2 separate regions of the Homo sapiens genome follow, and region 1 is linked to region 2. The links are contacts of gene promoters, found by promoter capture Hi-C in human tissues and cell types (Jung and others, 2019). All regions are on one chromosome and are shown on one strand. The core of a region is centred on a gene start or on the middle of the fragment in contact, and the rest is flanking DNA. Distances in the headings are between cores, read along the strand shown.

What was found. Contacts are between HindIII fragments. The study calls those that stand out against the background at their distance.
Region 1: a contact is called between a fragment that was not itself captured here and the fragment with the promoter of SMAD9 in region 2, in 2 of the 25 tissues and cell types used here (dorsolateral prefrontal cortex and spleen).

Annotation. Positions count from the first base shown.
Region 1 is chr13:36,455,519-36,459,380 of GRCh38, reverse strand. No RefSeq gene overlaps it. Among named protein-coding and RNA genes, the nearest start is that of CCNA1, 25 kb to the right of the region's middle. The HindIII fragment of the contact is 3,801 bases long and covers 330-3,862 here.
Region 2 is chr13:36,918,599-36,922,573 of GRCh38, reverse strand. It overlaps SMAD9 (SMAD family member 9), which reads left to right and starts at 2,336. Exons shown (of 7, transcript NM_001127217.3): 1 at 2,336-2,458. It also overlaps the pseudogene LAMTOR3P1. RefSeq lists silencers at 2,196-2,245, 2,356-2,425. The HindIII fragment of the contact is 20,741 bases long and covers 1-3,975 here.

The DNA of each region.
Region 1 (3,862 bases), core at 981-3,480, 460 kb after region 2:
CATCCCACTTTTGTGTGGAAGACAGAGATAGCAAAAGCTTCTGAGATGACTTAGGGCCTAAGATCTCTGGCACTCTTTGTGGGTAGCTCCAGAGGGCAATTCTATGTCTGTGGATGAAGAGTTAGTGTTGCTGTGGGAATCTCAGAGTCAAGTGCTGCAATATGCTCTAGAAAAGCGCAAAGTTTTGTGATTTGGTGGAGACAACCTGTACTAACTCTCAGGAGTCAATTGTTAAACGTCTGAGAATTTTGCCAGCCAGTTGTTGAACACAGCCATTATTAAAAATAAAATTGTAGGCCAGGTGCATTGGCTCACGCCTGTAATCCCAGCACTTTGAGAGGCCAAGGTGGGTGGATCACCTGAGGTCAGGAGTTCGAGACCAGCCTGGCCAATATGGTGAAACGCCGTCTCTACTAAAAATACAAAATTAGCCGGGCGTGGTGGTGCGCTCCTGTAATCCCAGCTATTCTGGCGGCTGAGGCAGGAGAATCGCTTAGAACCTGGGAGATGGAGGTTGCAATGAGCCGAGATCTCGCCACTGCACTCCAGCCTGGGCGACAGAGGGAGACTCTGTCTCAAAAATAAATAAAAAATAGAAATAACAAATAAAATTGTATAAGCTTACAAATAATTAAGTTATACTAGAAATAAGGTAATAAATGCTCAACACTCATAATTTTAATTATTTTTACTACATTTTAATATTATCTGTGTTCTTGAGGTTATTCTTATCTATTATATCCATAGGGTGGAAATACTGTATAATGACGTGCTACTCCACATCTCTCCACAGCATTCAATGATGTCACATTGAGAGCTTGAAATCAGCCATGGTGAGAATATTTATATCACAGAAGTTGATAACTGCTATGAATTTATTTATTGTTTTGTTGATTGATTAGACGAGAACATGGCAAACTGTAACACATAAAACAAATCTAGCCCATTGCCCATTTTTGTATGGCTTATGAGCTAAAGTGGCTTTTATATTTTTTAATTGTTGAAAAAAATTCAAAGAAGAATAATATTTTATGAAAACTATATGAAATTCAAATTTCAGTGTTCATAAATAAAGTTTTGTTGGAATACAGTCACGCTCATTGGTTTACATACTGTCTGTGGGTTGCTTGTGTGCTACAGAGGCAGAATTGTATAGACAGAGATAGTTGAGATAGAGACCATATGGCCTGTAGAGCCTAAAATATTTACTATCTGGCCCTTTACAGGAAAAGTTTTCCAGTTCCTTGTTTAAACTTAAGAAAGTGATGGATAAAATGTAAATAATGCAGATTAATCTTCTTAAATATGTTATGTCTCTGGCCATTGCATTGTGAATAGTGTTAAAAAATTGAGGAAATATTCTTCCAGCATTCCAGTCAATGACCAAAAAGTGATTTCCCACATACATCTTTGGTATTTTACTTAGTCTCATTCATTGCCTTAAATCAAAATATCCACTAACATTCATGTGAGAACTACATTTGTTTCTCAATGGCAACTGTAGATTGGCTATAGATTTTAAAATTTCAGCAAAAATTAGCAGAAGTGTTCTGTAAGAATCAATTAGCTATATGAATATTATATTTTTACTATTTATAAGTTGTATGCTACATATTCTTTACATTAGTACAATTCATAAGCATATGTACATGTACATAGGCATACTTTTTTTTCCCCCAGAGAGCCAGTTGTCAATTTTTGTTAGTTTTTTGTTTTTGATACGGAGTCTCACTCTGTCACCCAGGCTGGAGTGCAGTGGCATGATCTCGGCTCACTGCAACCTCCGCTTCCCAGGTTCAAGTGATTCTCATGCCTCGGCACGCTAGTACCTGGGATTACTCGAGCCTGCCACCATGCCCAGCTAATTTTTGTATTTTTTAGTAGAGATGGGGTTTTGCCATGTTGGCCAGGCTGGTCTCGAACTCCTGACCTCAGGTGATCTGCCTGCCTCAGCTGGGATTACAGGCATGAGCCACCACGCCCGGCCCAGTTGTTAAATATTTAGTAACATATTGCTGGCTCAGATCCTTTCCTCACCTTTTTGCATTCTTACCTCCCCTGGGAAATGGAAAAATCCCAGTTGATTCAGGGAGTTGGTGACCATTTCCTCTACAGCAGTATCATTCTGGTATTCTACAATGACAACAATTCAGGGACTGGATGACAACAAGTCTAGGGACTGAATGAGTTGAAAATGAAGATTAGACCAGGATCTCTCTGCGAGTCTTTTTCTTAAGATTAGGCTTAATAACAACCTATTATTCAATCTTAACAGAATTCCTGAACTGTGCCCGTGACTTCTCATGAGTTTTGGCTTGAATTATTTTCATCTGGGATTTCTTTTTTTCTTTTCTTATTCTCATTTCTCCAAATTGGCCTGGAATCTTGCCTGCTGGCACCTCTGAATCATAAAAATCTTTTGATAGTCCCCCAGGTGACTTACAAGCTTGGACATCACAGGTGACTTACAAGCTTGGACATCGTCTAAACCTGCCTAGTAGAATGCTTCTTCCTTGCTGCCCTTGCCTCAAAAAAGTTACACAAACTGAGACCCCAGGAGCCCTCGCCCAGATTAAACCCAGCCTCTGGGCAAACATTAAGTAAGAGACAACTGAAAGGATTACAAGCACTCCTTGTTCTCACTGAAAGTCTCTAACAACACAGACACAAGGGCATGCTGGAGGCCTCATTGCAGAACTTGGATGTTAATGCCTTAGTCATTCCTTCCTCCCTAAATTTGTTAAGGCTAAGATTATTGGGGTCACTCACAGAAAATGAACTAGCACAGCTAATTCAGCATTAATAATTAGGTGATGATATATTTATGTAAATACAAATGCATAAAAGCTTTGAATTGGTAGCATCGTAAGAGAAGAATATATTAACTGATTATTTTCTAAAGTGAAGGAAATGTATGCTGCTCATTTAGAAACTGTTCATTTCACCCAAATGTGCTTCTTGAGCAAAAATGTGTTTTAGGCACCAAATCAATGCTTTTATGTAATCATTTTAAAACTGGAGAGCCAGTTTAGATTACAACCATAATCAAAATTCATAGCGTGACGTTTTTTGAAACATTAGGTGTCTGAGAAAATTATCACACGACTTCACCATGGGACTGTGTTGCCAATTGATTTTAAAACTACACTGATGATCTCACAGTTAGCTTTGGGCCCATCATTGACTAACATGTCACATCCCACCTTCCATCAGCTAACTATGTTCTTGTCGAAAAAATGTGAAGTCAAATCTGCTTATGTTTTCTCAAACCAAGGAAAAACAGGGGGTGTAATGTTTTAAATTAAGCAAGGTTGTTATTCTTGTAGGTATAGAAGGACTTAAAAATAGTTTGTACCAACCCAGAGATCCCTTATTCATATTTCATGTATTAAGGTAGCTCTAACTATTATATTTCATCCTTTTGAAAGTTTCAGATTAAGCAATCTGTCTTTTCCTCCTCATGGATGACTTGCAAAAATAGTAAAACTTGTTTTTCCAACAGGTTGCCTAAAGTGACAAGATTCCTATTATGTAAGAAAAAAAATATATTGCTTATATTTAGTAAATTAATTGTTGCCCCAAAACACTCTCCTAAGGTTATAAAACTCCTCCTTAAAGCTGCTTATTAGAATGGAGATCCATTTTAGTAAAGTTACAAATTGTTCATGGCCAACAGTCACATCATTCAATGTGTTGTATAAATAGCAGTAGCTAATGTTTGGGAATAGAATATGATTATGACTTTTATGATATTATCACACAAATTTTGAATGGTTTATTTATATTAATAACACTGATTATTAAGTGAGAAGATGGGCTTGTATACTGAGGCTTGACTACATAGGATAAACATTTCTAATTC
Region 2 (3,975 bases), core at 1,087-3,586:
ATTTGATACATGAATCGCTTTAGGTCATCCGCCATGATGAACCCCCTTCTCTTGCAGGATCAATCTCCTTGCCTGGGGTTTCTGGGCTGCCCGGTTCTCTCCACTGTCACTTCAGGAACAGCTTCAAAGACCACAGTCTGGTTTTATGCTGGGTATATGGCAAATGCAAAGAATTGGCTCTCTCTTGGGGTAAGGAAGCTGCCCTTCCTACCACTGTTTTATAGCCTGAGGGAGTTCGTGTTAGGCCAAGACCTTATCATCTTTCAGAAAACAGATTTCAGTTTTGCCGTGGTTTTGAGGTCCTGAACCAAAATTTCACTGGCGGTTCTACCAAATCACAACCTCTGAGTCTCTCCTTTCATATGATTCCCATAACAGAATGTTTTGGTGGAAGTTCTATTAAGCAGTAAAACCACAGCCAATCAAGAAATCACTGGGAAAGATAAAGCGAAGTCTAGCTTTCCATTAACCAGGACAGTCAGCTTCTGTAAAATGGAGTGTCAACACTGCGCCTTCTGTCTTAGGCCAAGCATTTTCTCCTTCTTGGAACTCACCAGATCTTATTGTTCTTGAGCGTAATGGATTAACTTTCTATACTAGCCTTGAGGAATACATGATAGGAATTATATCAGTGACAGACTAATGTTTAGGCAGGAAAAAGTCATCATCGTGCAGAAATATCCTGGTATGTAAATGAGAACGTACAGAAAAGAGCAGACTAGACATACTCTAAATCAAAGGCCTGCCAAGAGTCAAGAGAATTCTGCGAACTGAGAAAGACTCCATGCCAGAAGCATGAGCCAGCGCTGCAGAGGTTATAATTTCTTTCTCTGCATCTTGTCCTCTGCATTATGCTCATATACGAGAAGGAAACTGAGATAGTGATTGGGCCATTTCTTTTCTTAATTTAATTTTTAAAAACTTGAGCCACAAGGTATCAATTCTGAGGACCTAATTAGTTTACTGGCAATAAAGTCCACATCCAGCCTAATCCTTAATATATAATCTGTAGCCCTTACCGGTCCCGCTGTTTCCTGGTGTTTCTCACCCAGGACAATCTCAAACCCAACACATAGCCGGGTGCAGAGGTATCTGGGCCAGTGTAGAAAGAAGACTTTGAGGTTAAGGCATGGTATTTAAGGTTCTGCTGCAAATGTTGTTTTAAACAAATCACCGTTCAACTACAACGGTATAATAATGCAAAAATAGCATCTGCCATGAAGAAAGTGCAGTGCTTTGAGAACTAGAAAAAGCAGTTAAATTTAAGGCCTTGCTTTACATTTCGGAGCCGCCATCGGGGCCAACTGGAGGTATGACTTTCCTGCACACAGGAGCAAGCTGAAAACTGCCCTGTGGCTTTATTCCACGTTCACCCCTGCAGCAAATGCCTTTTCTGTGAGGAACTACGGGCTGATGGGGAATCAGAGGTGGTTCTTCCTAAGTGGCGTTTCTGAGTGGGTTCCAGGAGTCCACAGTGACTTTAAGAGGCAGGCTACCTGGGGGACAGCCAGGCCGTGAGACGAGAAAGTTGTACAGTAACATTGCTGTGTGCCCATAAGTTTGTATCTTTTATTAGATTAGATAATATATCTCACATGCTGGGTTGTTAAGCAAATAAATATGTGTAAGGAAATTACAATCCACATAATTACATGAGTCGTTTTAACCACCACTCACCCCCAGAGTGATTAGATTTTCTTCTGCCTATGCCATTGCGGCCCAGTTGCTCTGTCACTGTCCATGGGGACAGGATCCCCTTACTCCGAAAAGCAAATCAGGAACAAACAGGGCAAGTGAGAGTCACTATCAGGGCCCAGAAACATGTGAGGAACAGCAGCTCAGAAGGGTCTCCAGACTGATGGGCCGGTGATCCTATATTCTTGTTGGGCTGACAACTCTTCTGGTTTCGGGCTCCAGGTGCTGGCAAGAAATCTCAGAGGTGGGGTGGGAGAGAGAGACGCGAGGCGACCCACGCAGACAAAGGGCTCCCACCCCACCCCCGGGCCACCCCGGCAGGCCGGGCAGGGGCCGAGCCTGGGGTCGCGCAGGGGGACCGAGAGGGCAGCGCGGGGCTGGGGGTGGGGAAGAGGCGGGAACCGAGCCGCAGGCCGCTGCGAGGAGTACTACCCCGCCACCCCCGCGCCGCGAGTTTCCGCGCACGTGGCCGTGGGGCCGGTCTCGCTCCCGCCCCCCGCCGGGCCCGCGCAGCCCCCTCCTCTGCGGCTCCCGGAGCGGCCAGAGCGCGCGGCGGCGGGCGGGGGCGGGCCGCAAGCAGGGCTCCCTGGCCGCTTTCCAGGTCGGCGCACTAATACGGGCGATGAGGCTTCGCGGCTCCAGTCTGACTGACGCCGGCTGGGGCCGCCGCCGCCGCCGCCGCCGCCGCCGCTGCTGCAGCCGCTGTCTCGGTCCCCGCCGCCGCCGCCGGGCCCTGCAGGCGCTGGGCGCGCGCAGCCAGGCAGTGAGTGCGCGGCGCTCGGAGCGGGCGGCCGGGGGACCACGGCGGGGGCGGGGTTGGGGGCGCCGGACCTGGGTGGGGGAGGGATGAGTGGCACGGCGGGGACAGGTAAGACGTGCCCTCCTCGGCCGCGCGCTGCTTGTGTGCGTGCGTGTGAGCGCATTGAGTGGAGGGCGAAGTTGTTCGTCCTCGGGGCAGCCTGGGAGGCTCCTCGGCGTGAGGCTTGGCTTTTGGCGGTCGTTGTTCCCGGGTTTTTTGGTGGAGCCTGTCTGGGGTGGAGTGGGGTGGGGTGGGGTGGGCGCGGGGCCGGAGGGGACTGCTCTGGGGAGTTGGCCGCGGCGCAGCTCGCCTTCCTCGCGCCTGCATCCGCCCGCGCCGCGGGCCCCGGGACCTGTCAGGGGATGTTCGACCCGCGGCGGGGGCGGCGGTCGGGTCGGGGCTGGGGCCCGGGGCGTGGGCAGGGACCAGGATAGGCGCCTGAGGGGTCGCTTGCTGTAGCTGGAGATAGGGGACAGCGGACAGAGGGGGCGGCGGGGGTCGTCATTGTGACTCTTTGGGGGCCACTTTTAAACTCGCCAGCGCCGAATTGGCCTCACTTGCCTTCTGTTTCGTAGGCTTTTTGCTTTGTTTACCTTTGAGGCATGCGAACTGAGAAAAAAAGTTAGGAATGTTGTTGAAGTGTCTCCGGGCTCGCGCTTGGACTGTGTCGGAGCCGGGGTGTTTGTCTTTTCCTTGGCCCGCCCCTCGGTGCCAGCTCTCCGCAGAGGGGAGGGGGCGAGGTGGGAAGCAGATACAGGAGACTGCCTGACGCCAGCTTTGTGATCGGAAGGAGGAGCGCTGGGAGAACATTTTTATGGATGGCTAATCGCTGACAAGTTTTCCCGTTACTATTCCTTCCTCCTCCTGCCCTTGACCGTGGACATTTGAAGTGATAGTTTGGAAATACTACGTTGACTTATTTCTGGGCTGGAGTGGGTACTCCTGAGAACTAACCTACAAAGGATACAAATCGAGTTTGGAGATAAAATTGTATGTAAATTCTTTACCCAGTAGTTTACAGTGAGAAACACACCCACAGGGCACTGTGGAGTGCTTTGGATGGATCCAGTTTACTAGTACCATTTCGGTGGCTTGCCAGATTTCTCGGATGATCTTTTGGAAATGTAGGTTAGCAAGAAGCATGGAGGCTGACCGTTAAGTCGTGAGGCATTTAATAATGCTGCCTCCTAAGCAGTAACTGAGCGGAACGTTTGTGGCACCCGTCTGGGAAAGTGAAATGTGACTACTACAAGCATGTCTCCTGCCTTAGCATTCCTCCAAGTGTGAGGGAATGCCTTTGGATGTTTACATTTTAAAAATAGTGATCTATATTTAAGAAGGCATTTAAAATAAAAGCCAAAGACATTCTCAACTCCAAATAGACAAAGATTCAATATAAGAGTTTCCCTGTGCTTGTAGGAAAGCATCAGCACAATTTTAGACTGCTTTTAGGTTTGTGGTTATCCAAGAAGGAGGCTTCA